6 separate regions of the Homo sapiens genome follow, and regions 1, 2, 3, 4 and 6 are each linked to region 5. Evidence: promoter capture Hi-C in human tissues and cell types (Jung and others, 2019). All regions are on one chromosome and are shown on one strand. The core of a region is centred on a gene start or on the middle of the fragment in contact, and the rest is flanking DNA. Distances in the headings are between cores, read along the strand shown.

Region 1 (5,061 bases), core at 2,118-4,617, 140 kb after region 5:
CCTGTATTTATATATCTTATAATGCTGGCTTTGTCTTATTACGGTTTTACATGTTACTGCCCCCTGCACTGAGTTATTGACCCTCAAGGGCTGGGACTACATCTTTCCCAGTTTTGTTTCTGCAGGGCCTAACACAGAACTTAGTACTTGGTGGTGCTAAAATATCTTTTAATCAATGCTCGATCTCACCATGGCTATCTCCACCAGTCCAATGAGACCCAGCGTTTCATTTTTTGTATATATCATATTTTTCTCCGTTGAACACCAAAAGAAAACTATGCAGCATGGCTTCTCTACACAAAGCTAAATTTAAATAATCTTAGAACTAGAACATTTACATAATTGTAGCTATGATCACGTTTATGTAATATTGGGTCTTTTTAATAATGTCAGCTATGTATAACAATTATTATCATTGTTCATAATAAATAGAGATAAAAACTTGGGTGTTATTTGCTAACAGTGAAGGCTGATGAAATATTTGTCCCAGTCTGATTTGGTGGAAGTGGATATAGCCCAGCAGTTGTGATATACAGGCCCCTGGACATTCTGGTAAACAAAAATAAACAAAGGAATTACAGTTCTTAGGAGGAAAAAATATGGTGCTTGTTTTCAAATCTCTTTGTACCAACGGCAACTTAGAATAAACAACATATACATGTCTTAGATCATATGTGGTAGGTAATGCTGTTCCCCAGATGCCAGTTTCCAGGACAAGAGTGCACTTTTATCCCAATAATTTATTCCAATAATCAGACTATTAAAACACCCTTTTAGGTGAAATTTTTCTTAATGTTTCATAAACTACAAAAATATATACGACAACAAAATATTAGTACCCTGGCCAGGATTAGAAACACAAAAATCCAATTACAGTTGTTGTTTTTTTTTTCAAGAAAAAAAAGGAAAGAAAAAATATGTGAACAGTTTACATAAACCAGGAAAAAGCTAATCATAAAGAAATAAAAAAAATGTATAAAAAGTTCTTTATCACACAAGGTATGTTAAAGGAATGGGGGATATTGCAGAATTTTATTTTGGGGTGGCTTAGGGCTGACATTGACCAGTCCACAGTCCTATTAGTTGTGGTCCTCTATGGTTTAATTAAACGCTTCCAGAAAATAAAAGTGAAGCCTTTCATCTTGACCCTTTTTCAACTTTTCTCCTCTAAGACACTTTAAAAAAAAAAAACCACAATTATTATAGAACCCATCAGTTTGTATTTGATCTCTATTTTTTTCCCAAAAATACATCTCGACTTCCCACGCATTATTTCCTAATTCCAAAAATGGGTATCATGGATTGTTAAGCATGCACTTAACACTAAACAGGTTGACTGTTCTGGGAAAGATCTCGCATACTTAATTACCATTTTATTTCATCCGGTACAAGAATGCCATCTACAGACATGACTGCGCATTTCCATGAGCTTCTCTGAAAGAACTGAAAATAAATGCTATAAGGAAGGATTCCAAAAAATGTAGCTATTATCCTGATTCTTTTGTAACATTTGTTCTTTTTTGGACTAAAATAAGTTTGAAGAACAATTCATTCCCATTATGTACCATGAAAATGTTCTGTGCAATCCATGCATTTATAATCCAAGAGAGTTCTAATCCCTGTCGAAAGACAGAACAATATGTTGAGAGCTGGCATTGCATTTTGGTGTTTTGGAGAAATCACAAAATAAAATGGACTAGGTATATGATATGGGCATTCCTACAAAGTGTTTAAAATGAAGCTAAAATTCAGAATTAACACCGATGAAATAATTTAAATTACTTCCTAAGTTGCAATAATAGACTTCCAGAACAAAAATTGTTTATACTGGAGAGATGGAAAAAGAAAAATACATGTTCTTAGTACAGACACTTGACATCTTTTTTCCTTTAACTCTCACGCCTTCTCACTTGTGAGGCAAGTTTTAACTGAGCCATACGCAGGTTAATTAATTTACCAAGTCCACACTGCTAAGAAGTGATAGGGTGAAGATTCAGACATGTGATCACTAACCTCAAGTCTAATCCACTTTCCATTGTACTAAAGCCATAAATCTCAAGGGAAATCCTTCACAGCTTTAAAAATGGGGAAGGGGATTTGATACTCTCACTGTTCTAGGGAAACTTGCAAAAAGTGTCTTCTATGTAGCTTTAAAATACACATTATTACACACCAACTGCTAAGCCCTGCTGCACCGGATGTTTTTCTTGCAAAGACATACTATAAATAAAAACTGTAATAAAATATGATCCAGGAAACAGCTGGATGCTGGGATAAAAACACATAAATGACTAAGTAGTAAATTACCTTTCACTTGATTTCAATGCTGGGTGAATTCATCCTTTCTTAAACTAGACAAAATAGGAAACAGCAATGAGTGACCCCAACTGAGTGCATCCTTTCCCTCCCTGAAAGCAAATCCATCACATTCTTCCTGTGATGCTTCCCTACGGAAGTACCATCTCCTTGAAAGAAAGAAGCAAAACCTAGAATTCTCCAATTGCCATTCTTTTATGCATTCACTCAACAATACTTTCCAGTGCCCACCTTGAGTATCACAGGTAGACAGTATACAATTTTGGAAAAAACAAACACAATACTTGCACATGAAGAGCTTACAGTAGCAGAACGGTGAGGGGTTGGGAGGCAGGGCAGTCAACATGCAAATAAATTACACACAGTAAATCATCATTAAATATTTATTAAATGAAGCCTGTCCTTGCTAACCTAGGCCTTACTGATCTCTCCCTCTCATCTTTCTGAGGATCAGAACACTTAAAATTTTGTAATATTATCTAGCTAGGTAAGCTTCCCAGGGAATGGAACAATATGTTATACTCCTTTGCTCTCCTAACATAACCAAATACAATATATCAGCAAGCACAGTGTTTCATGATGTTCCAGGGGAAGTAGAGGAAGTGGGAGGGAGGAGTGGCATGAGGGAAGGAAGAAGAAGTAGACAAACAAAGAAGGAAGTGGAGAAAGAGGTGGTTTCATTTGAATTACTTGCTTTTAGGAAAAATAAAATATGTCTAACTCATGAAAAAATGAATTTTATGTACGTGGAAACTAAACTGAAATGGTAGAAAAACACAGATCTAGACAGAAGCACTGTTTTAGTCTTAAGTGAGAAACTGAGTCTCATTTATGGTGTGGAGGCACCGGAGGAGCCGGAGCTGAGCCTGGTGGTGTCATTGACAGCAGCTGGAGGGAGGATACATCACATCATGCTCACTAAGGAATCATAATGTCCAGATTTTCATTTCTTTGAGTCAGATGATTTATGTGCCTGTGGAGCAGCACACTACCACACCATCGATATCATTATTTTGTGGATACAATGCTATAAAAATACAAATGTTAGAAGAATTCAAGGAAAGAGAGGAAAATAGAGGAGTAAACAGTATAAATTGCTTTGCCTCACTTATCCACCAAGAGCAATGCGTGCTCTGGTTGGCTGTGGTCTCTGACTTTACTTTGTCTTCCAGGCTGGAGTGCAGTGGTGCAATCATGGCTCACTACAGTCTCGACCTCCTGGGTTCAGGACTCCTGAGTAGCTGGGACTACAGGTGTGCACCACCAGGACTGGCTAATTTTTCATATTTTTGTTGTAGAGATGGAGTTTCACTGCATTGCCCAGGCTAGTTTCAAATTCCTGGCTTCAAGTGATCCTCCCGCTTTGGCCTCCCAAAATGCTGGGATTAGAGGTGTGAGCCACCACATTCAGCTTCTTTCTTTAATGAAGGTAGTAGCCTTCCTAGTCATTCTATTGCAGGCTTATTGGTCTTGTAAAATTAGCATTGAAAACAATGGTTAATTTCCACATTCAGACTCATACAGTTCTTTAAACAATTGGAATGCAAGTTATGTCTATAATGTTCTTGAAATATTCCAAATGGCCCAGAGAAACTTGACCGCAGGTGTTTGCTACCCTCATATATAACAGCATTCAGTTAAAAAATTAAGTTGTGGCTGGGTGCGGTGGCTCATGCTGGTAATCCCAGCACTTCGGGAGGCTGAGGTGGGCGGATCACCTGAGGTCAGGAGTTCAAGACCAGCCTGGCTAACATGGTGAAACCCCATCTCTATAAAAAATATGAAAATTAGCCGGGCGTGGTGGCGGGTGCCTGTAATCCCAGCTACTCAGGAGGCTGAAACAGGAGAATCACTTGAACCCGGGAGGCGGAGGTATCAGTGAGCTGAGATTGCGCCATTGCACTCCAGCCTGGGTGACAAGAGTGAAACTCCATTTCAAAAAAAAAAAAAAAAGTTGCAGTAGAATACATATAATCAAAAGCTACTGAATTCCACTAAGAACTTGCAAATGAATTTTAATATCCTGCTTGTAAAACTACTGAATATTATGGTCTTAGGTTCCTTTTCCCCTTCTATGCTGTTGGAACTAAATATACAAAACCTGCAAATGGGAGCTAGCTAGCTAGATATGGATATGTATCTACGTATACAGAGAGAAACATCAACAGACATACATATAAATACAAATATATGTGATATAGTTTCAAGAGTACATGAAGTATCCCTGAAAGCTATATTAAAACTTTCAGTTAAGATAATCCAACATCAGTCTAAATATTATCTTATCAAAACCAGTGTACACATGAACAGGGTTTAACTTTTGTGAGAGAAAGTATTTTAAATGCTTAAATAGCTAAGCCTTTAAAAATGCTATGCTTATTTTCTTATTTATTTGGTTTTCTAAACTAATTAGGTTATTTCCAATGCAAAATTTCTTGCTTTTACAAAAACAGTAGATACTGGGAGAAATTTGAATCAGTTCAATGCCTGGCACCTTTTCTAAATATCCCCCATTATATCCAATACTTGGCAAAATTCATCCCTAACCCCAGCTTCTGACCTGAAAACCATGTGTGAGGATGCTTCTGATATTGATCATCCTGGCTTCTGCTCTGTCAAAGACCAACCCGGCCTTGGCACCAACCACCTTGTGAAAGAATACAGTTCTGTTCTGCAGATCCTCTTTAGTGAGGTCTGGAGGTTCTCAAACAAGAGTTTGAGACTTGGCAGCCCAATACATGGCTG
Region 2 (4,861 bases), core at 1,333-3,832, 170 kb before region 5:
CACCATGTTGGCCAGGCTGGTCTCAAACTCCTGACCTCAGGTGATCCTGCCTCGGCCTCCCAAAGAGCTGGGATTAGAGGCATGAGCCACCGCTCCTGGCCTCCTTTTGGTGAATCTTTAATTTTTAAGTTTTGGCTTTTACAAACAGTTCTGCAATGAGCATCCTTTTCGTACTGATTCCTAGAAGCAGAATGGCTGATTCAAACGGGGCATGCGTTTAAAACTTGTTACATATTGCTAAATTTCCTTCAGAAAAGACTATCAATTTACACTTAAACTAACAGCGTATGAGGATTTATTTTTCTCCCTACTAATGCTGGGTAAATTGGATTTTAATTTTTTCTATTTTTATCTCATTTTACTTTGCATTTCCCTGATCTTATTTGGGAAATTAAGCATTTTTCTGTTTTTTTCTTGGCCATTTACATTTCTTCTGTAACCTTCTTATTTTCCTTTGCTATTTTGCATTTCATTGCTTGTCATCTTACTGATTTTAAAGAACTTTTAATATTTTTGGTCCTAATCCCTTTGTCTAGTTTGTGTTGCATTTATTTTCTTTCAGTTTAACTTTGTTTGTAACATCTTTTGTCATTACAGATATTTTAAATTTTTTAATGACAACTGTCATTCTTTTTAATAACTATATTAGATGCTTTATGTAGAAGTCCTTCTCACCCTAAGGTTATAAAATGTTTTCCTATATTTTAAAAATACTTTTATTGCCTTTTTTTTTTTTTTTTACATTTAGCTTAGCTGCATAGTTCATCTGGGGTATTTATTTTTGTCCATAGACATCCTTTACACTCTTAAAAATTATTGAGGATCCCAAAGAACATTTATGTGTATTATATTCATTATATTCACTATAGTAGAAATAAAAACTGGAAAGATTTTAAACATTTATTAATTCATTTAAAAATATCAATTGAGGCCGGGTGTGGTAGCTCACGCCTATAACCCCAGCACTTTGGGAGGCTGAGGTGGGCGGATCACCTGAGGTCAGGAGTTCGAGACCAGCCTGGCGAACATGGTGAAACCCCATCTTACTAAAAATACAAAAATTAGCCACGTGTGGTGGTGCACGCCTGTAATCCCAGCTACTTGGGAGGCTGGGGCAAGAGAATGGCTTGAACTTGGGAGGTGGAGGTTGCAGTGAGCCAAGATCGTGCCACTGCACTCCAGCCTGGGCAACAGAGTGAGACTCTGTCTCAAAAAAAAAAAAAAGTATATTGATTGAAATCTATTATATGTTAGCCATATGTATTGCTAATGAAAAACATATTCTCCAAAATGAAAAAAATGCACCATTAAAAGAGTGTCATTGTTTTACATTTTTGTGACTGATTTAATTGAAGACAGATTTGCAGATCTCCTTCTGGATTCAGTTTGTTGTGAGATATTGTTTTGGTTGAAGTAAATTAAGAAAATTTGGCCTTACACAGAGGGAAGTGTATTTTGATAAGCTTTATCAAATAATTGGGAATGTTCTTCTTTAATACTCTATGAAAACTTGACAAGTGGTAGTTTCTTTAAAAATTAGTTTCAGAGTAGAATCTGAAACCATGTAAGGAAGTCTGTACAATTAAAATGAATTAATCTGAAAAATTAGAAGCTAGGTCTTGCTTATGGATAAGAGGACCCAAGGTGTGAATCCTTCCCAAATTAATCTATAGATATATTTTAATTCCAATCATAATTCTAGCAGGATATTTTATAGAAATTGACAAACTTATTTTAAAAATAACATGGAAAGGCAAAGGAACTATAATAACCCAAACCATTTTGTAACAGAACAAAGTTGGAAGATTTCTACTAATTTCAAAACTTGCAGTAAAGCTATAGTAATCAAGACATTATGGTATTGATACATGGATAGATGTATAGATCAATGGAATAGATTAGAGTCCAGAAATAGACCATACCTATATGGTTAGTTGAGTTTTGACTAATGTGTCAAGGCAACTCAGTAGAGAAAGGATTTCATCAATGGTGCTGAAACAATTAGATATCTATATGCAAAGTATGAACATTGACCCATACCTTGCATCATATACATAAATTAACTCAAATCGGATTATAGACCTAAATGTCAAAATTAAAACTTCTAGGAAGTATGGGAGAAAATTTTTGTGATCGTGGGTTTGTGCAAAGATTTCTATAGACACCAAAGCACAATCCATAATGGAAAAAAAAATGATGAATTGGACTTGATCAAAACTAAGAGACTTCTGCTCTTTGAAAGACATTGATAAGAGAATTAAAAAACACGCTACAGCCTAGGAGAAAATATTGGCTAAATGGGTATTTGATGAAGGAATAGAATCCAGAAATCTCAGAACTCAATACAGCAGCCCCCTACTTTCCGCAGGGGATGTGTTCCAGAACCCCAGTGGATGCCTGAAACTGTAGATTGTACTGAACCCTATATATACTGTGTTTTTACATGTAATGTAAAAACCTATGATAAAGCTATGAAGTAGGCACAGTAAGAGATTAACAACAATAATAATAAGAGAACAGTTATAACAATATACTATAATAAAAGTTATGCGAATGTGGTCTCTCTCTCAAGATATCTTATTCTACTATACTTAACTATTTCCAGACTCTGGTCAACCATGAGTAACTGATATTAGGGAAAGTGAAACCACAGATAAGGGGGGACTCCTATAATAATAAAACAATTTACAGGTGACAAAAGATTTGAACAGACACTTGACCAAAGTAGGTAGATAGATGTCAATAAGCCCATGGAAAGATGCTTAACATGTTTAGTCATTGGGGAAATGCAAATTTAAACCATAAGAAGATACTACATACCTATTAGAATTTGTTTTTTTTTTAATGGATAAGGCCAGGCACAATGGTTCACGTCTGTGATTCCAGCACTTTGGGAGGCTGAGGTGGAAGGATGACTTGTCTACTAAAAATCAAAACAATTAGCCAGGCGTGGTGGCACATGCTTGTAATCCCAGCTACTCAGGAGGCTGAGATAGGAGGATTGCTTGAGCCCAGGAGATCGAGGCCGCAGTGAGCTATATCTTGCCACTGTACTTCAGCCTGGATGACAGAGTAAGACCCTGTCTCAACAAAACCAAAAAAACAAAAAACAACCCCAAAACGGATAATATTGACTCTTGGCAAGGATGTGGAGCAATTGGAATTCTCATAATTGCTGGTGGGAATTCAAAGTGGGATAGCCACTTTGGAAAAATTTGAGTTTCTTATAAAGGTAAACATGAACTTAACATTATGATCCAGTATTTTCCACTTACAGATATATTCAAGAAAAGTGAAAACTTATGTTCACACAAAAATATGTACAAAAATGAATATAGTTGCTTTATTCAAAATCGTCAAAAACTGGACTACACAAATATCCCACAACTGTTGAATGAATAAACATACTGTGATACAGCCGTATCATGAAATACTGCTCAGCAACGTAAAGGAACCAACTACAGATAAATATACAGTGTGGGTGAATCTCAAATGCTCAAATGCATTATGCTAAGTAAAAGCAGCCATTCAAAAGGCTACCTACCTAAGACCAGGCATGGTGGCTCACACCTGTAATCCCAGCACTTTGGGAGGCCAAGGCAGGCAGATCACTTGAGCTTAGGAGTTTGAGACCAGCCTGGGCAACATGGTGAAACCTCGTCTCTACCAAAAATACAAAAATTTAGCCGAGTGTGGTGGTGGGCACCTGTGGTTCCACCTATTCGGGAGGCTGAGGTGGGAGGATTGCTTAAGCCCGGGAGGTGGAGGTAACAGTGAGCTGAGATCATGCCACTGCACTCCAGTCTGGGCAACAGAGTGAGACTCGTCTCAAAAAACAAGCAAGAAAAAAGACTACCTAATGTGTGATTCCATTTATTTGACCTCCTGGAAAAGATAAAATTACAAATAGAAAACTGATTATGGTTGCTGGGCTGGGATGGAGAGGAGGATTTGCTATAAATTAGCATAAGGGATTTTGGGGAGGTGATGAAACCAGTTAAATAGTGGAAAGCTATGAAGCTCATGGTGGCAAATACCAGTTTTCCAAAATTCTAATTTTTCACGTTCACATGGAAGTTCAAATTTTATCATTGACAGCAAATACTGATAGTTGTTTTCCTTGAAATTATAGTCTTATTTCATTCAAAATTTGAAATTTGAAAAAAAATTGGCCATTTGTCCAAGGCTGGTATAAACAGTTTGTCATTTTTTTTTTTTTTTTTTTTGAGATGGAGTCTCGCTCTTTTGCCCAGGCTGGAGTGCAGTGGTGCAATCTCGGCTCACTGCAACCTCTGCCTCCTGGGTTTAAGCGATTCTCCTGCCTCAGCCTCCTGAGTAGCTGGGACTACAGGCGCTCACCACCACGCCTGGCTAATTTTCGTATTTTTAGTAGAGACGGGGTTTCACCATATTGTCCAGGCTGATCTCAAACTCCTGACCTTGTGATCCGCCCACCTCGGCCTCAAAGTACTGGGATTACAGGTGTGAGACACTGCACCCGGTCCAACAGTTTGTTGTTTTTTAAAGTAAAAGTTGTGTGCAAAATATGTACTTCCCATTTTGTCACAGAATTTAAAATAAAACAGGTACTCGAGTCCAAATTTAATAGTATTAATTTTTTTTTACTGCTTCATCAAGGACATTCTTAAATAAAACTGTGAAACAATGTCTTAGTATTGTTATTATTATTGTTATTATTTTTGAGACGGAGTCTCGCTTTGTCGCCCAGGCTGGAGTACAGTGGCGCGATCTCGGCTCACTGCAAGCTCCGCCTCCCGGGTTCACGCCATTTTCCTGCCTCAGCCTCCCGAGTAGCTGGGACTACAGGCGCCCGCCACCACGCCCGGCTAATTTTTTGTAT
Region 3 (4,657 bases), core at 2,030-4,529, 130 kb before region 5:
AAAGCCAACTTACAAAGGTAGGTTAGACTCTAAAATCTAATAATTCAGAATTCAGTGAACATGAAGGTGCTAATAGAATATTTGACTATAATTACAATTATATTGAAGTCGAATTTATGGTTTTTAAAGAATATTAGAATAGGGGTAGAATTTTTACAATGATTTCAGGTACCACCAAATTTGTTAGAAAAAATGTACTTTTAAATTCTGACACATAACCTAGATATTGTTAGTTTGCATATTTGATTGGACATATTCTTTTTCTCTTACAATTAAAAAGAAAAATTATGACTATTGTTTCACAATAAAAGTAGCATCACTTTCTCTGAAGAAAAAAATTGTAAAATCTGGTGAAGTTGTAGAGAAGGAGTGGTTATCCATAATTACACTATCCTAAAACAACTTTTTGCTAGTCTTTTTCTGTAATGCTGTTATTTGTAATTTTTATGTTGCTTTTTTTGTTTTTTTGAGACAGAGTTTCACTTTGTTGCCCAGGCTGGAGTGCAGTGGCACCGTCTCAGCTCACTGCAACCTCCGCTTCCTGGGTTCAAGCAATTCTCCTGCCTCAGTCTCGTGAGTAGCTGGGATTACAGGTACCCACCACCAAGCCTGGCTGATTTTTTTTGTATTTTAGTAGAGACGGGGTTTCACCATGTTGCCCAGGCTGGTCTTGAACTCCTGAGCTCAGGCAATCCATCTTGGCCTCCCAAAGTGCTAGGATTACAGGCGTGTGCCACCGCGCCCAGCCTTATGTTGCTTTTTAAAAATAATTCTTTATCTTTTAAGTGTAATAATGTACTAATTGAGCAGATAGTAGAGTTTAATTGTACTGTATATTGCTTTTATTTATTTATTTATTTATTTATTGGGACAGAGTCTCACTCTGTCACCCAGGCTGGAGTGTAGTGGTATGATCTCGGTTCACTGTAAACTCTGTCTCCTGGGTTCAAGGGATTCTCATGCCTCAGCCTCCTGAGTAGCTGGGATTACAGGCGCCCACCACCACACCTGGCTAATGTTTGTATTTTTAGTAGAGACGGGGTTTTGCCATGTTGGCCAGGCTAGTCTTGAACTCCTGACCTCAAGTGATCTGCCTGCCTCGGCCTCCCAAAGTGCTGGGATTACAGGCGTGAGCCACCGTGCCCGGCCTGTTGCTTTTTAAGTTTAACATTACTTCACAAAAATTTTGGCATTTTATTAACAGAGTCTGTAAGCATTCCTGATTTTTTTCTCATTAACGAAGTGTTCATTGTAGATAAAAGTTTATAGATAAGCAAGCAGAAAAAAGTTATCTGCCATATGTTTATATCCTTCCAAGTTGAAAAATTCTTCAAGCATAGATCATGTTTTAGATCTCTTTTTTGTTCTTAATCATCCCTTGCTACCTCAAATGTGAATCTCTGAACTACAGACAGCTAGGAACATGACTTCTTCTTTTGTTGAGTCTTTAAACATGGGAACAACAGTGATTGATTAAATTATTTTAGTCTTATTTTAAGCATTAAAGGGTTATGGGAGACCCTTTGTTGTTGTGGTGTTGTGAAAAGAATGTGCATAGAATTTGGGATCTAATTCTGGTTCCACTACTTTCTTCCCTAACTGTGTGTTTTCGGACAAGGTACTCTCCAAACTTCAGTTTTCTTACTGATTCAGCAAACATTAAGAACCTGCTAGGTTTGGGTGCCAAGTTATGTATTGGGATATGTAGATGACAGAGATAATCAAAAACATTTAAAAATTACTTTTCAAAGCCTTTAGATCTAATCTACTTTTATGTAGTGTAAAACAGTGCTGTTTGAAGCAGCCAGTTTGTGAACTTACATGTTCTTGGTCTGTGATGAAATGAACTAGCACCAGAATGCACTGTCCTGCTTTCTTCTTTGTGAAAGTGTCTTGCTGTGAAAAGAAAGATTGAGAGCTGAACTAAATGGTGTATTTGGTGATGTAGTTGACTTTCCCTCCTCCTAGACCAGTAACACCCTTGCAGATCAATACTGTTCCATGGAGTATACTCTAAGTAGCTTTTTCTTTTTTTTTTTTGAGACGGAGTCTTGCTTTGTCGCCCAGGCTGGAGTGCAGTGGCGCCATCTCTGCTCACTGCAAGCTCCGCCTCCCAGGTTCACGCCATTCTCTTGCCTCGGCCTCCCAAGTAGCTGGGACTACAGGTGCCCGCCACCATGCCCGGCTAATTTTTTTGTATTTTTAGTAGAGACAGGGTTTCACCATGTTAGCCATGATGGTCTCGATCTCCTAACCTCATGATCTGTCCGCCTCAGCCTCCCCGAAGTGTTGGGATTACAGGCGTGAACCACCGTGACCCACCTACTTTAAGTAGCTTTTGTGTAAAGTAACCCAAGAACTACCACCAATAGTTAAATAGAAGCCATATCTTCTAGTTTTTTTTCCTCTTCTTTGCTATTATGATTTTCTTGAATTTTGCTGATTGTTTCCTTCAAAGTCTCTTTATTACAGTTTTGTCATTTTGCCTAATTGAAATGTCTAGGTATGGAAGAGTTAATTATGTTCTGGCTCGAAGAATAGAACTTTTAGAAGAAGTCAAACGATTGCAAAAGAGTCTAGGGGTTCCAGGAGATGCCTCATATACCTGTGAAACTGCAGGCTATTTCTTCTTATACCAGGTAAGATATTAAGGGTTTTTGAATCATACTTCATCATAATATGAACCCCAGTTGGAAGCTGGAATGAGTTCTTGTGATCCTTCATGAAAGCTTATTTTTTTGAGTAGATTAGAATGTATGGTATTGCAAGTGCTATATTTATGAATGTTAAGTGTATTTTGTATTATCTTCAGTTTTCTTTTCTAAATAACTTTGCTTGATGACTCATTCTGTGAAAGACCAATGTTGCTACTTTTTACATTTTTTTCTTTCTATTGGCAAAGTTCTAGTCACTCTTTTTTCTTTTTTTACTGTAGAAATACAACTAAATAAATATTCTAGCTAGCCAGTGGCAACAAAGTACAGTTAACTTTTATTGTATACATTAATCAACTAATGAAGGAAAACATTCTTCCTTCAAATTTCCAGAAATAAATTATGTCTTACAACTAATTGCACAGTGGGTCTTGAAGTTAAAGGCTTCTGACTTCAACATAAAGATGTACTTTTACTTTTGTTAGGGTAAATTTTGGAAGTGTGAAAACCAATGAGAAATAGCCAAATAAAGTGAATAAAACTAAACTTTAATAGTCAGTTGGATTATTAATAATTTTAAATGGACTAGGACATAATTGGCTAATGAAGATTTTTGTATAACTTCATTTGTTCTCTTTGTTCTAATGCCAATTGTATATTTTAGATATAAATTATAATATTGTAAGCTCATTGTAAGTGGATATCACAAACCAATTAAGTCCATTCAAAATGAGCAGCTTTCATGGTTTCTTGTGAAGCAGGGAAAATACATAATATAGTCTACATTAGATTCAAGACTGTTTAGGACTTGCATAAAGGAGTAAAGATCAGCTTAAATGCTTTTTTGACACAAAATTACTTGGCTTTCAGTGAAAATAATGTTTAAAAGTGGGAAAAATAACCTATAAATTAAGAAGGTTTATGTAATAAATTTGGGAAGAATGAACTTGAGGCTTCACAGTGTAAATTGGCAGTTTTCAACATTTAAGAATCATATCAGGAAAGTTGTTTACGAGTTAAATTCCCTAGCCCTTGTTCCTATAGCTTCTCATTCAATAGAGGTGGAATCCAGGAATCCACATTTTTATTTAGCTCCTCAGATATTTTGCATAAGGACTACACTTTTGAGAAACACTGAGATAGTAACAGAAAAAGACCTGGGAGAGTTACAGAAATTGAGGTTACATAGTAACTGGCTGGTAGACGCATAGCTAACATTATACAAAGTAATTGAACTATAATCACAAAAGTCATAAGATAAGCTTTCAAATACACACTCAGCTTAACCAGACGTTCTTTATAAATGTTCTAAAAAACTGACAGAGGGTTGACAAGTGCCAAATTGATTAAAAAGCTGCTAAAGCTGAACTTACCATATATGGAGAGAAACAGAGATGAAAAAAATGAGCAATTTCTTTGTCCAGAGAGCTTTCTTTCCTTTACATTTCTTTTAAGCGTTAATAATAAACTCTCTTGAGTTACGTGGAGAATCTGAACTGTCGGAGTTAGAGTTCTATGAGATGATGTTAAGGCTCTTTCCAGTTTGTAGAAATTTGTTATTAAAGAGCCTTTTTTTCTCCAAAGACAAGGTTACTTTTATAACAGAAGAGCAATCTGTCAGTTACAGGAATGAAGAATAGTTATATTGGATCAAAGATTGAATTTCTTTTTTTTTCTTTTTCACCTAGCAGATCTTGTTTTTATAAGATTTATTCATTTTATGCTTTAAAACATCATAATTAGCTGGCAGTTAACTTCAAGTCCTTTTTTCTACAGGTAATGTCTCGCTGGGAAGAGTATATCAGCAAAGTGAAAAATAAAGGTAGTACATTGCCAGATGTTACGGAAGTCTCCACTTTCTTCCCTTTCCATGAATACTTTGCAAATGCTCCTCAACCCATTTTTAAAGGAAGATCTTATGAAGAAGACATGGAAATTGCTGAAGGATGTTTCAGGCATATTAAGAAAATCTTTACGCAGCTTGAGGTAAGGATTCTCAAGTT
Region 4 (5,204 bases), core at 33-2,532, 150 kb before region 5:
TTAAGATTGTTAAAAATAAGAATGATGACGAACATCCAATTTTGGAGCTGTAGCATGACTTGGAGGGCTTATTCAGTAATATATTCATGGCATGAATGTTTCTAATTTTAATATAAAGAAGTTTTCATTTCAATTAATGCTATGAAATATTGAGTATTAAAGATTATAGAAAAGCCCATAATTGTGTTACAATGCGATAATAATCATTGGTCACTCAACGGTATCTCTCTACCAAAGATAAGAGGTAGAGAGGCAAATAAGAATTTGCCTACAAAAGACTGAAAACAATGAAATTCTAATAAATGAAAATGTCTTTATATCTTACCAGGTCTTCGTAAGCATGATGTATGCTTTTTAATTACCGTACGTCCCACAAAACCTTATGGCACTAAGTTTGACCGGAGGAGACCTTTTATTGAGCAGGTTGGCCTGGTTTATGTCAGAGGCTGTGAAATTCAGGGCATGCTGGATGATAAAGGACGTGTCATTGAAGATGGTATGGTGACCTATATTTTTGAAAGAGTATGTGTATAGAATGATAAATTTCTTTGCCTTTTTCCCTTTTTGCTTCTTAGGTAATATTTTTTAGTTCTTTTACCTACTAAATTGACACAAAGGATTTTGTATCAAATATGTGTAGGGTACCTACCGTGCAGTTTTAGATATAGGTAACATGGTTTCTCACTGTGTCACACAGGCTGGAGTTCAGTGGCACAATCTCGGCTCACTGCAACCTCTGCCTCCTGGGTTCATGCGATTCTCCAGCCTCAGCCCTGCTAGTAGCTGGGACCATAGGCACGTGCGACCATGCCCGGTTAATTTTTGTAGAGATGGGGTTTCCCCATGTTGCCCAGGCTGGTCTCAAACTCCTGAGATCAAGCACTCCACTTGCCTCGGCCTCCCAAAGTGCTGGGATTACAGACATGAGCCGCCACCACACCCAGACAGTTTCAGAACTTCTATGTTAGATATTGGAAAGGACAGGATCTTTTTCTTTTTTTCCCCCCAAGACGGAGTTTTGCTCTGTCAACCAGGCTGGAGTGCAGTGGCGCGATCTTGGCCCACTGCAACCTCTGCCTCCCAAGTTCAAGCAATTCTGCCTCAGCCACCCCAGTAGCTGGGATTACAGGTGCCTGCCACCGCGCCTGGCTAATTTTTGTATTTTTAGTAGAGACAGAGTTTCACCATGTTGGCCAGGCTGGTCTCGAACTCTGGGACAGGATCTTTTGAAATCATCTTTATTCAAAGCTTTTTAAAATATGTAATACTTTACCATATTTTTTTTAAGAAACACTCTAAATATCTCTTACAGTTGTCCAAGCTTTTTTGTGTTCAATGATATATTTTTTCTTCTTAAATTTGACTATTTTAATTCATTGTAGTGGTGGTTCTTAATTGGGAACAATACTGTCCTGCGTTTGAAAATGCATAGTGATATTTAGGTTTTCAAATGACCGGGATAGAGGTGAGGAATGGCAGGCTCTTGGCATTAGGTAACTGTGAGCCAAGGATGCTAAACATCTGAACAGAAATAAAAGAAGGAATTATCCTGCATAAGATGCCAACTTTACCGCATTTAAAAACACTGCTTTACAAAATTAGTCAGTTATTTGATTTCTTATGTGTATCACTTATTATCCCTTTGAAATTCTTTCTTCTGTTGTCCTGACTTCCTTTATAATACTTATTATTAAATTACAACTGCATACATGTCTAGTGCTTATTTTACAATTTGGTTGTTGTACTTCTTTTGAAACTTTAGTCAGTTTATGCTATCTGTGGTTTAGAGATTATATCATTGCTAAACTGCTGATGATTAAGTTATTTATCTCTAGAATGAGAGGAAATAGGAGAAGGGAATGGAAAATGGATGGAATAAGCATAAGGCCACATAATGGAACCAAAGTTCGAGGTCTAAGACCCCCCCTTCCCCCCACCCCCCCCAAAAAAGAGGAGATATGTCAGAGAGGAAAGAAAAGGCTCTGGGCTTTCAACCATTAGTATCCTACATTTCTGTGTATGTGAAATTTCTTTTCATGCTGGTTATACTAGGTATGGAATGTGGAAGGATGAGAAAAGTGATGAACCTCTGTCAAATTAAGGAATTAATGAATAGAAAACTATGCCTTAAATTCTAAAATACATATATTTAATTAGAAAATATTTATTGAATACTTACTATATGTAAGGCAGTAGTGGGAGCTATGAGTGACAAAAGTAAAGATAAGTTCTTTGACTTCTAAGTACTCCTATTTTAGTTGAGTGTGTGTACAAATTATTGCAAGTCATGGTGTTGCATCGTAAACATTACATGACTGCTATGGAAGGAAATAGTAAGAATTTAGAGAAAGAAGAAAATACTTTCAGCATCTTAGAATTTGAAGTGGGTGAGTGGAGGGCATTCTACTTTGGGAAGAATGGTTGGAGTTAAGCCTGAACCATTTACTCACCATTTCTAGAAAAGAAATACTGTTAACTTATTTTGATATTTGAAAAATACATATTTTATTTAACAAACTTTTTCAAATTGTCCAGGACCTGAACCCAGACCCAATCTTAGAGGAGAATCAAGGACATTTAGAGTGTTTTTGGATCCAAACCAGTATCAACAAGATATGACCAATACTATACAAAATGGAGCAGAGGATGTGTATGAAACTTTTAATATAATAATGAGGAGAAAACCAAAGGAAAATAACTTTAAGGTAATTTGGGGGTATGTAACTAAAAGTACTATGTCATAATTTAAGTAACTTTTATGACATAAATACAGAGATATTTGGTTAGAGGAAGATTTGTTAAGAAAAAAATAATGACTGCTTTTATTTTTACTATAAGCAATCCTCTTAAACTTTTAACAAAATGATGAAATATAAAAATTTAAAGAAATTGATTTCTTAAATCTATTTTGTCTTTTGAGGAGTTTAAAAACTTAAAATATAGATGAATCCAAGTGTTATTCTAAAGGTCCACCTCCTTTTTTGCTTTTTGTATATTAGGTATTCAGTTAATGCCCTATTATGAAGTGAAGAAAACTTGCTTACTTGTTTACTGGGGCTTCTTTTTTGAATCAAAAGTAGGTATACTTCCAGGTCACTTTAAGAATACAGATATGGAATCTCAAGGCTCTGAATTACTATACGTTATAATATATTTTTACTCATTAGTAGGAAAGGGAGGTTTGGTGGCTCAAAGTTCTACTTTTAGAATAACTTTGTGGGGAGAAGAGTTTTAGTAAAGGATAGTTTTAAAAACCATTATTTGAAACTATATTATAAAACTTAAACATTGAACAGTTCTAGCATTTGATACATGTAGCTTTTGCAGAAAGAGTGCCTTTCTTTTCTCTTTCTCCCAAAGTGCAGTACTTCTTAGACATTCCTATCATTTTATTACTTTTATGTAACCCTGTTGTTGTGATTTTTTAAGAAAATCTTTTGAACAGCAGAACTTGTTCTTCATCTCTCCCTGTTGTTGAACACAAATGGAGATATCCTTAATTTCTCTTTATCTCATACTCTACCTCTAATCTATCAGTAAGTCTGATTAGCTCATCACCTCTGCTGATGCCATGTCCAGGACACCTTTATCTCTCATATCCCTGCCTCCTTTCTTGTCTATTCCTCCCCTTACACATGTCCACATAATGGCTGAATAATCCTTTTAAAATGTGAAGTATACCTTGATTTGATACCCCCACTTAACATTCTTTAATGGTTTCCCATCACATTAGAAAGTTCCTACCATAATCCAAAAGGCCCTCTCATTATCTGTCTTCTGGTGTCCTCTCCAACATCATTTTCTAACACTTTTTCCTATTCACTCCATGTCAGTCACACTGTCCTTTTTGCTGTTTTTTAAAATAATCCAAGACTTTTCACATGGTGTTCCTTTTACTTAGGTAATTATCCCCAGGTATTTACATAGTTCTTTTCCTCACCTGACATGGGCAACTGTTTTTCAATGTCACCTCCTAAGAGAAGCCTTCCCTGGCAACCTTACCTAAAGTAGCATCTTCCCTTCTCATCATTTTCTACCCTATTACCTTTATTTTTCCTCAGAGCCTGTATCATAACTGATGATTATACATTTGTTATGTATCTGAATTCTTCATTAGAAAGCAATGAAGCAAGCAAGTCTATGAGGGCAGGGTCTTTGTTTTGTCTGCCAGTGTATCCTTAGCACCTAGAACTGTGCCTGTTATATAGTATGTTCTTAATAAACATTTATTGAGTGATCGAAGGATGGAGAAATCTAAGAGTTTCCAAGTTTTATAGTACCTTTGACTGTCACAGTTGGTCAGTTTTCAGTAAATAAATCTCAGTTACTTCACTGAAAACTAAAACATTGTTTTCTTATATTCATTTGTTTGACTATTTAGTGCCTACTGTAAGTCAGATATTGTGCTAAGATGAAGCTTATGAAGATGAATCAGACACAACTTACACCTTTAGAGAAGCTAGAAATATAGACAGATGCCTACCATGAACAGTTAGAAGGTACCAAAAGCCATAAAAAGCCTGTGGATAAAAGTGTCCTGAAAGTTCAAAGGAGGCATTTAGTTTCTGATCCAAGAAAGAGGGGGAATGATTAACTTGCCTATGTTTAGGAAAAAAAGAATGCTCTTTTGGTTTCTTTGGTGTTTCATTATGTATCTGTGTAGCATCTCTCATTTATTGCCTTTTCTCTTTTCCAGTTTGTACAACCTGTCCTAATCTGGATACTTTATTTTTTGCCTAGACAGTTATAGTAGCCTCCTCTTTGTCTACCCTTGAGTCTCCTCATAGCCAGTCACCTGTTTTTCATGTTTCCTCCTACTGTGTGACACTGATCATTTTACTCTCCCTCTCAGAACATTTCTTTGACTTTCTATTCATGATGAAATAAATCAAAGCTCCTTCACAAATCTTTTACTTGAGTTCAATAAAAATGCCACTTTCCTCCATGAAACCTTTCCTAATGTTAAGTGTCCCCTGCATCCATCTCTCTGATTTACTGTGAACTTTGTTCCCACTGTATTTTGTAACATTCTTTACTATTTACCATTCTGCTGCTTTGTGTTACAGTTAAGGACATATTTTATCTTGCTACTAAAACTGTAATTTCCTTAGAGGGCAGAGCCCTGATCTTATTCATCATTGTTAGGTGAATATACTCATTTGGGTATTCATTCATTCACCCATTCCATATTTAAACTGTTCTAG
Region 5 (4,726 bases), core at 658-3,157:
CACCTATGTTGTTTGCACATGTTTATATGTGGAATCTATATGGCATATTAAAGTATATTTCAAAATAATACACAAATGATCAACAATTCAGTCATAGCGTAGTGTCTGATAATTGCATTTCCTGCAGTCTATGTTCTTAGGATCATAATCTTTAACGGTTTGGGAAAGCCAACACATAAAATGACAATTTTGAGTTGTGCAGCCTATTTTGGGACATTTAAAGATGTTAAACAGATTTCCCTTTGGACTTACTCATTCACTTCTTGGCTAAGATCATTTACTATAAGAGAGTCTGCCAGACAAGGAGGGAATACAGGGACCTAGGGCCAAGGGGAGTAGAAGGGAAACCTGGGAAAACACACCAAGTTTGGGTTAGGGGATCACCATTCCATCTGGAAGCTAACTGGATAATAGGGTATCCATTCGTCCTCACCCTTGAACCTCCTCCGTGTTCAGAAGGAAACTAATAAATCACTTTATCCCTCTCTCCATTGTTAGTGGACTCTTTTACTCCTTTGCAGTGAAAGGCTGCTTTCTTGGGGTAAAGATGTCAACCCTAGCAGAGGATTTCAGTGATCTTTCTGGCGGCGAAGCTTAGACCGTGTGTTTAAACATCATTTTATGAAGAAGTACACTGTGAGTGGACTGAGGGCCATGCCCTGCACCTTTCTTCCCAGTCCCTGGGCCACCAACTACCCAACCACCTCGGTTGTTCCAGAAGTGAAGGCTCACCATGGTGTGGCTTATGTAATATACATATGTGCTATGATCCCTGTGGATAATTAAGGCTAGGTCCCTTTATATGCCTAGGACAAGTTAGCAACCCTTTCAAGGTCGTGTTTTCGAAAGGATGACAATTACTTTCCCATTGGACTTTTGGTACATTTACATCAAACACTGCCAGCTACAGTGTCTCCTAATACTGACCCCTGGGCTAATTAGCAGCTTAGTGAGGTTGTTTCAATTTTTCAGCAACCAATTAAGTAGTTGCTCTAGACAGAACTGACAACACAATGTGAATTTTAAAAACCGGGATCTGCTGGTTGAGGGGAGAAAGCCAAACCCAGTAAGGCAAGTGGGGGCAGGGCGAGGCTGTGAGTGGCTCTGTTTCTGCTAGCAGAATACTGGGTCTTAAATTCAGATTAAATCACAGTTTACCTGACGAGTACCCCGCCCCCCCTTCCCATTAGTAAAATAATAGCAATAATTTAAAAAGAGCCGAGCATCTGGGTTAGTGCAAGGGGAAGCGAGACCTTTAACCATGGCCACCCCACTTGCTCTTTGCGAGGCACCTGTTAGATGCGCTCGTGTGCCCTGACCCCTATACCGAGAGACAGCTCCACACCTGCATTTACCCTTCAGCCTAAATGGATTCCCATCAAGCCTTTCTCACTTCACTGTCGGATCCACAGAGGCACCGAACCGCAGCCACTCTGCAGAAGCACTCTCAGCCACTCTGTCCCCTAAGGGAGATTTAAAAGTGGTCGCCCCCACTCGCCCTCCCTCAGCCAGCATCTCCATCTAGGGAAGGAATTTCAGTTGTCTCCAGGAGGCAAAAAGCGAAAAGGTGAGGGATGCACCGAGAGAAGAGAAGATACCTACTCACTCCCCTCCCCACTCACCCACGCGTCCGCTCCCGGCTCCCCCTCCGCCTGCTTGGGTCTGGCGGTCAGGTGAGGTTACCTGGGCTCCCCGAGAAGCCCCGAGGGGCGCTGCAGTCCTTCCTTTCGAAATCGCCCCGCTCCCCGCCGGGCCTCCAGGACTCTTGCCCCTCTCCCCCCGCGCGCGTCCCCGGCCCCTCGGGCTCCGACGCGCAGCGACAGCCGCACGGCGCGCTCTGCTCCCCTCCGCCGACCTGGCGTGACGCAGGCGGAGACTACTTAAGGGCGGATTAGAGGCGGCGGCCGCGGATCCCCGAGCCCAGCATTCGGCTCCGCGCGCTCGGCCCTGGCCTCGCAGGCTGCCGCGCCGGAGCGCCAGGTGCCCGCTGAAGTAGCAGGAACAGAGCCGGTGTTCGGACCCTCCCCTGGCCCCCAACCTGCGGCGGAGAGCGGCGCTGAGACTTCTCCTGGGCGGGCGAGCGCTGGAGGACCTGCAGGCTGCCACCCCGCCCCGCCCCTCGTCCCGGCGTCCGCGGGATCCAGACCCGAACCCCGGACGGCGCCCGAGGTTCGTGCCCTCTCTCTAGACCGCGCCAACTGCCCCATCGGTCGGGACGCGCTTGGATTTCTTTCCCCATTTCTTCTCTTTTAAGTACAATAAAAGGAAAGGGGGATTCGAGGATTTTTTAAAAAATTGCTTCTTTAATTGGGAGGCAATTCACTCCCATTCTGGAAGTGCGGCCCGGGGAGGGGCCAGGAGCGGGAACGTGCCCGGTGCTGCCCAGTCTTTGTCTGCTGCCTCCGGATGCACAGCGATGGGGGAATGGACCATCTTGGAGAGGCTGCTAGAAGCCGCGGTGCAGCAGCACTCCACTATGATCGGGAGGTAAGGGCGCCAAGCCGGCGGTCAGGGGGCCCCGTCGGGCGGCCCCCGGGAGTCCCTTCTCACACCTGGACTGAGTCTCCCGCTCCAATCCCCAGTCCGTCCTCTGCCTCCTCCCCATCGTCCTAGGTCAAGGCTCCGGTGTTCCCGGCGATGAGGGATTACCCGACGCCCCGCGATGCCCCCCTCCTCTAGCTACTCCTAACCAGCTGCCCATCCCTTCCCCATCAAGCACCACTGGGGCTTCACTCTTCCCACATCAGAAAAGGAGCCGCTGGCTCAGTCTTGGTCCCTCCACTCTCCAGAGTCAGAGCCAATCTCCATTTGGTTCCCTAAATAGAATCTACAAAGAAGGCAGGATTGCATTTGGACAGAAAAGGGCAAATGGGGAGATGGATTTGCTCTTCAGAGCAGATGCCTCTTTTCTCAACAAATAATTACTAAACCAAACTTATTTGGCGGTGTAAACTTACCGAGCCTACACACCCAATTGCCATTTTTGGGTCTGTATCTATATCTATGTCTCTATCTACCTAGCTTTATATATATATGAGTTCAATATATATGAATATATATTCATAGCCATCTGCTTATATAAAGCATTAAATTTAATATTCATGTTGAGAATAAACTAAATATACACATGGAGTAGTTATTTACACACCCTGTGTGTAGACCTCGAAGCATGCACCATCTGTAAAGGTATTCTGTGTGCATTTGCCATATCCAGAGTGAAGGTGTGTTTTGTGTTTCTATACATTCTATATAGAGAGATGAAATCTATCTGTTGCAAGTAGACTATGTCCAGTGTATGGAGATGTGTGTACCTGGGATCTCTATAATATGAAATATTCCCAGCCTACCAGCACTCAGCAGAAAAGGAAGAGACAAAAAGCTTTCCCAGATTCCTAGTTCAGTACCAGCCCGGGATGGACAGCTCCCCAGTCAAAAGACTGGTAAACACCAGCAAAGGGAAGGGAGGAGCAGGGGTTTCCTGTCAGTGACGCAGCCCGTGAGAACCTCTCTCCCTCCCTCTTCCTCCGTTCAGGATCCTGTTGACTGTGGTGGTGATCTTCCGGATCCTCATTGTGGCCATTGTGGGGGAGACGGTGTACGATGATGAGCAGACCATGTTTGTGTGCAACACCCTGCAGCCCGGCTGTAACCAGGCCTGCTATGACCGCGCCTTCCCCATCTCCCACATACGTTACTGGGTCTTCCAGATCATAATGGTGTGTACCCCCAGTCTTTGCTTCATCACCTACTCTGTGCACCAGTCCGCCAAGCAGCGAGAACGCCGCTACTCTACAGTCTTCCTAGCCCTGGACAGAGACCCCCCTGAGTCCATAGGAGGTCCTGGAGGAACTGGGGGTGGGGGCAGTGGTGGGGGCAAACGAGAAGATAAGAAGTTGCAAAATGCTATTGTGAATGGGGTGCTGCAGAACACAGAGAACACCAGTAAGGAGACAGAGCCAGATTGTTTAGAGGTTAAGGAGCTGACTCCACACCCATCAGGTCTACGCACTGCATCAAAATCCAAGCTCAGAAGGCAGGAAGGCATCTCCCGCTTCTACATTATCCAAGTGGTGTTCCGAAATGCCCTGGAAATTGGGTTCCTGGTTGGCCAATATTTTCTCTATGGCTTTAGTGTCCCAGGGTTGTATGAGTGTAACCGCTACCCCTGCATCAAGGAGGTGGAATGTTATGTGTCCCGGCCAACTGAGAAGACTGTCTTTCTAGTGTTCATGTTTGCTGTAAGTGGCATCTGTGTTGTGCTCAACCTGGCTGAACTCAACCACCTGGGATGGCGCAAGATCAAGCTGGCTGTGCGAGGGGCTCAGGCCAAGAGAAAGTCAATCTATGAGATTCGTAACAAGGACCTGCCAAGGGTCAGTGTTCCCAATTTTGGCAGGACTCAGTCCAGTGACTCTGCCTATGTGTGAGAGGGCAGGTTTCATGAAGGTCTGGGGGATGGCAAGGAGCCCCAAGGCAGATGACTGCTCAGACGTGGCTGTATCCACCCTCATTTATGTGACCCTCACCATTAAGATGTAGGATAAGACTGGATAAAAGAAGATTTTGCACCAATGGGAAAGGAGGAAAAGTGGACCCATTTTCACATATCACCTAATTGGTTCTACAGAGACGATTGGGTAGAGTGATGAAATGGATCAATTAGACTTCTTTGGTCCCTTTCTGTTTATGGCCTAGCCTGATCCTGATAACACTGAACTTGCACAGC
Region 6 (4,977 bases), core at 72-2,571, 190 kb before region 5:
TAGTCCTGTCAGAAACCTGTATTTGACTTGCCATTAATTATAAGTAAGCACGTGATGCTTCTTTTATACATATACAAATAACCCTTTTGTAATTATTTGGTTTTTTTAATAGACTGCTAAAAAGCCTACTAGGGCTTCTTTAAAGCTTAAGTGAGCAAGCCAATACAAAATGAATTTTATTCTGTTTCTTTTCAGATTTTTAAGAAGAAGCCAGACCACTTCCCATTCTTTTTTAAACACATCTTGAAGGCGGCATTAGCTGAAACTGATGGTGAATTTTCACTTCATGAACAGACAGTCTTACTACTTTTTCTTGATCATTGCTTCAATAGTTTGGTACTTTTACTTTATATTTTGGGGTAATTTTCAAGTTTTCTTGTTCTTTTAGGTTGAGTTTAGATGAAATTACCTCTGTAGCCAACTCCATTCATCCATAATAGCAGGCAATAAGGATAATGCTAAAAGCTTGATTTCAGCCACTTATCAGTAAAACCATTTTATAAGTCTTTAAGATATGTTTTTATAAGATATGTTCACTTTTTAATAGATTTGAAATTGATACTTAATTTTTTCTATCTAGACTCTTAAGAAAAATGATTATAAGAACTGAAACTCTAAAGGGAGAGCACAAAAATGAGAAGCAGCAAGGAGACTGGTTATATGGAATTGGAGTAATGAGATCTGTGCCACAAACTGCATATACATACAGGAATGTAGTTTCATTGCTTTTCATCATGCCTTATGCATAGGCTGGTTAGTCAACAGGAGAGTTGTATTTTGAGTTGACTGATAAAGGCCAAGTGTAAATGATCTTTGAAAATGTCTTGTGTGTGATACATTTTCATCCTTCATAAGATTATCTTCTAAAAAATTAAATATTTTCAGTAATATTTTATTTGAGCTTTCCTGTGTGGTTAGCTGATAAATACACATATTTATTTAGTGCCTCTGAATTGATAATTCACTTACACCCATGCAGGAGGAATGCATGGAGTTCTTTCTTATTCTGAAGACTGAGTGTTAATAGATGGATGATTATTACCTGTTTCCATGTACTATCTCACATGGATCTTTTAAAGGCATAAAAAAAGATTTATGATGCCTGCACTGGATACCACTGTTATCTCTTTAACATTTATTTTTATTTATTTATTTATTTATTTATTTATTTATTTATTTTGAACATAAACTCAAGATTTTATTGTCTTCATAATAAAAGATGACACTTAGAACTGAATCACTTGGCCCTTTCTCTTCTTATCTCCTCCCAGTTCAAAATGCTTGCATCTTTTAATAGCCAGCATTCTCTTAGATCTGCAGTTGGGCTCAATGCACTCAAGCCTTAGCACAATCTTTGTAGTTTTAGCCTTTTTCCAGAAAATTGGCTTAGTTTGCCCACCATAGCCACTCTGCTTCCTGTCATAACGCCGCTTTCCCTGGGCATACAGAGAATCCTTGCCCTTCTTGTACTGTGTCACTTTATGGGGTTGGTGCTTGCCACACTTCTTACAGAAAGTCCGGCGGGTTTTAGGGACGTTAACCATGCTTGCGTGAGCGTTATCGGCACAGAAAGCCTCTTTAACATTTATTAAACTAAACAGAACAAATAGAAATATAAATAGATGTGATTTTTTTATCAGAAACTAAACAGAAACAAGATTTTATTAGTATTAGTAATTTGGTGATAGTTTTAGCCAACTTACCAAACTAGTTTATTATTGAAATGCTTTATCTTTTAAAATATGCAGTCAGTTCTTATTTGAGGTAGTTATGTTCATTTTATAAAGTAGCTATGAACATTGAATGAGCTAATGCTGAACCATTACTCCTTGGGGAAATACAGGGTTAGGTTCCTGCAAGCCTTGGTCATGACATTTTACAAACTATCAATACATAGCCTTATTTTATGTGTGTTTCTATTTAAAGACAGCTTATTTATTGTATATTATTGATTCATTAACCATGAACTCACTGCCAACAGCACTGTAATTATGCCTGAACGAAGCTTATCTAACATACGTATTTACTCTGTAAGACATATCACAGCCTTCTTGCACCCATGAACATCAGACAGCACTTCAGCCTTGGGCTTGTTGCCATTTTAAACAGCGAAATCATCAAAAAGCACAAGCGTGCCAAAAAAAATAGTACTCAATAGACCACAAAAAGGATACTTGTTTCTTACAGTATGAGAGCTGAGAATGAAGCAGAGCATCAGCTCAGTCTCACCTGAGAATGTGCACGTCGGACAACTCAGATTTTTGTTTGGGCCATCTGGATGACTGTGAAAGCACATGGAGTGTTGATTTTGGGGTTACAAATACATTTTTATTAGTATATGAATTTGCAAGTACAAAATCTGTAGATAATAAGGATGGAGTCTTTTTTAAAGCATTGAACTTCTTAATATCAAAATATTAACTTGAAAATATTTGTGGCATGTTTTCCCTCCAGGACTTAAAAAGGCAGTATACTTCTTATGTAAAGACTTAGGTAGAAATGCTGGTATGTTTATAAACTTATTTTCTTCATGCCCTAAACAGGAAGTAGACTTGATACGAAGTCAAGTACAGCAGCTTATCTCCCTCCCAATGTGGATGGGCTTACAGCTGGTAAGTCTCTAATTTCAGAGTCTTATGAATGTATGTGTTATAAGTAGAACGTGTGGTTTTAGTCTATAGCCTTAATCTGGATATACAAGTGGTAGCTAAATACCCCTTTTCTTAGAAAAGCCACTTTGCTTAACTTTTCATAGATATAGTTTTTATTTTAAAGTTTTTATATGCATTCGATGTTTAACTTAATTTTAGTAATATAAAATGAATAAGGTAGTATCTATTGAGCTTATAGAGAAAGGGGGTTAATTTAGCAAAGTATAGATGAGACTAAATGTGGACTTGAATTTTTTTTTCCTTGATTAGAGTATATATATAGCTGTAGGAGAAGATCTGGATCATACCTAATATTAATGACTTCCATTTTTCCATAAAGTCTTTATTGGGTAATATGTGCAGGTACCAAAGCCAAATTAATACATCTTAGGTAGTTTAGTTAAAACTATCAGATTTCATTGTAATGCTTTATTCAGAATTTCCCTTCCTGCACATGGGTGTTTCTGCATATACTCAGATATGCAGACTCATTTATAAGCACCAGTTGATGGGGATGAAAACATAAGGCACGTATAAATAATTAATACTAAGTTAAAAAGTGGCAAGTGCTATAAGAGAGAATATGCTGATGTGGACATTTCCTTATTTACTTGTGATCGCTGTTTTTTGTGCATTGTTTCAGACTCATATTTTTCAAACCTTAGTGATTATGCTAAGTGTTGATGCATATATTTTTCAGACTTAGCTCTTTAAGTTTTGAAATAAAAAATTAATTGATTATTGAGCTTACAATCTTGATTTGTATTTTTATTAACAAGAGCTAGAGTTGAATAATTTTTTAAAATATCGTTATTCATTTCTTAATTTTCAGGGTTTGTCATGTTATTTTCAGGTTTTATCAGATTGCTCTATTTTGTACTCATATATTAGAAAACTAGCAAATAGTTGATCTAATCCTTATCCTTGTAAACTTTGAGGCTACTGGTAATTTAATAACACATCTCTTCTTCAGGCACGATTGGAATTAGAATTAAAAAAGACACCTAAGCTAAGAAAATTCTGGAACTTGATTAAAAAGAATGATGAAAAGATGGATCCAGAAGCAAGAGAACAGTATGTTGGCAGAGCTTCATTTCATGTTGGCTTATTATGCTGGATTGTGGACCTTAGATGATGTTGACTGGTTTGTTGTTTCCCTTTATATAGTGCTGAGTGCAAATAAATTATTATAATAAGTGCTTTTACCTAGACTGTCATTAAGAATATTTTCCACAAAGATCTAAAGCAGAAGCCAGAGCATCATGCTTTTCTTCTTTTCCTTCTTTCTGTGCTGCTAAGTATATATAGTTGACCCACTGTTTTTCTCCCTGCCTATTGTCCGTCTCCCTCATGGATGGTTCTCAATTTTCTCCACTATCTTCAGGCTATTAATATAACTTCTCTTTCTTTTTCTTACTCCTTCACTCTTTTTTTATTTTTTTGAGACGGAGTTTCGCTCTTGTTGCCCAGGCTGGAGTGCAATAGTGCGACTGTGGCTCACTGCAACCTCTGCCTCCCAGATTCAAGCGATTTCTCTTGCCCCAGCCTCTGAGTAGAGGGGATTACAGGCATGCGCCACCACGCCTGGCTAATTTTGTATTTTTAATAGAGACAGGGTTTCTCCATGTTGGTCAGGCTGGTCTCAAACTCCCGACCTTAGGTGATCCGCCTGCCTCGGCCTCCTAAAGTGCTGGGGATTACAGGCGTGAGCCACTGCACCCAGCCTAACTCTAAACTTCTTACAAGGTTTTCAGAAGCTTGCAGCTGTTTCTTGTGACTCTTGCAAATCACTGGACTACTCTAGTCATTGCTTCTTTAGCATTTCTTTCCTAAGTCCCTTTCCTCTTCACTCCACTTAATTGAATATTAACCATATAAACACTCTTCCAGACCAACTACTTTAGATCATAGTGCTTTCATCTGAACTCCTAGAACACATGCTCTGTGATTTTTTTTTGAAACACCAGCTGTTTATGTAATGATTGGGATATGTATAGTAGTTGAGGATGTAGGTTCTACAATCAGACTTAGCTAGATTCCACACTCAATTGCTGTATGACTTTGGGCAAGTTACTTCACCTCTAAGCCTCATTGTGAAATCTGGACAGTAGTACCCATTTCCGAGGACTGTTATCAATATTAAATAAGATGTGAAGTGTTTAGCATAGCTCAGATCCTGGCAAAATGCGTGCTTAATTAATGTCAGGCAGTTTTATTAATCACATACTGGCATGTATTACTAATTGTGTTTATAATATATGACTTGTTATTGCAAGTAGATTTTAGCCGTTCCCCTTCTTTGTATTTCCAGCAGGACTGTTACAAG

What was found. The method cuts DNA at HindIII sites, captures the fragments that hold promoters and counts their contacts. A contact is called where the count stands out against the background at its distance.
Region 1: a contact is called between a fragment that was not itself captured here and the fragment with the promoter of GJD2 in region 5, in 4 of the 25 tissues and cell types used here (H1 embryonic stem cells, dorsolateral prefrontal cortex, mesenchymal stem cells and 1 more).
Region 2: a contact is called between a fragment that was not itself captured here and the fragment with the promoter of GJD2 in region 5, in 2 of the 25 tissues and cell types used here (IMR-90 fibroblasts and aorta).
Region 3: a contact is called between a fragment that was not itself captured here and the fragment with the promoter of GJD2 in region 5, in 6 of the 25 tissues and cell types used here (IMR-90 fibroblasts, adrenal gland, bladder and 3 more).
Region 4: a contact is called between a fragment that was not itself captured here and the fragment with the promoter of GJD2 in region 5, in 4 of the 25 tissues and cell types used here (IMR-90 fibroblasts, mesenchymal stem cells, mesendoderm cells and 1 more).
Region 6: a fragment that was not itself captured here is called in contact with the fragment with the promoter of GJD2 in region 5 in 4 of the 25 tissues and cell types used here (IMR-90 fibroblasts, heart left ventricle, mesendoderm cells and 1 more).

What each region holds. Positions count from the first base shown.
Region 1 is chr15:34,618,218-34,623,278 of GRCh38, reverse strand. No RefSeq gene overlaps it. Among named protein-coding and RNA genes, the nearest start is that of LINC02252, 35 kb to the left of the region's middle. The HindIII fragment of the contact is 5,582 bases long and covers 577-5,061 here.
Region 2 is chr15:34,920,799-34,925,659 of GRCh38, reverse strand. The region is part of intron 13 of AQR (aquarius intron-binding spliceosomal factor); the gene reads left to right. Among named protein-coding and RNA genes, the nearest start is that of AQR, 47 kb to the left of the region's middle. The HindIII fragment of the contact is 7,298 bases long and covers 1-4,861 here.
Region 3 is chr15:34,884,508-34,889,164 of GRCh38, reverse strand. It overlaps AQR (aquarius intron-binding spliceosomal factor), which reads left to right. Exons shown (of 35, transcript NM_014691.3): 25 at 2,504-2,639; 26 at 4,431-4,640. Among named protein-coding and RNA genes, the nearest start is that of AQR, 83 kb to the left of the region's middle. The HindIII fragment of the contact is 4,312 bases long and covers 1,124-4,657 here.
Region 4 is chr15:34,901,837-34,907,040 of GRCh38, reverse strand. It overlaps AQR (aquarius intron-binding spliceosomal factor), which reads left to right. Exons shown (of 35, transcript NM_014691.3): 18 at 329-496; 19 at 2,536-2,705. Among named protein-coding and RNA genes, the nearest start is that of AQR, 65 kb to the left of the region's middle. The HindIII fragment of the contact is 3,174 bases long and covers 1-2,869 here.
Region 5 is chr15:34,752,179-34,756,904 of GRCh38, reverse strand. It overlaps GJD2 (gap junction protein delta 2), which reads left to right and starts at 1,907. Exons shown (of 2, transcript NM_020660.3): 1 at 1,907-2,487; 2 at 3,533-4,726. The coding sequence starts at 2,417. The coding sequence ends at 4,427. GJD2-DT (GJD2 divergent transcript) reads right to left here and starts at 1,821. Exons shown (of 3, transcript NR_120329.1): 1 at 1,684-1,821. The HindIII fragment of the contact is 7,022 bases long and covers 1-4,726 here.
Region 6 is chr15:34,939,647-34,944,623 of GRCh38, reverse strand. It overlaps AQR (aquarius intron-binding spliceosomal factor), which reads left to right. Exons shown (of 35, transcript NM_014691.3): 6 at 196-336; 7 at 2,544-2,612; 8 at 3,625-3,725. It also overlaps the pseudogene RPL36AP8. Among named protein-coding and RNA genes, the nearest start is that of AQR, 28 kb to the left of the region's middle. The HindIII fragment of the contact is 3,772 bases long and covers 1-3,207 here.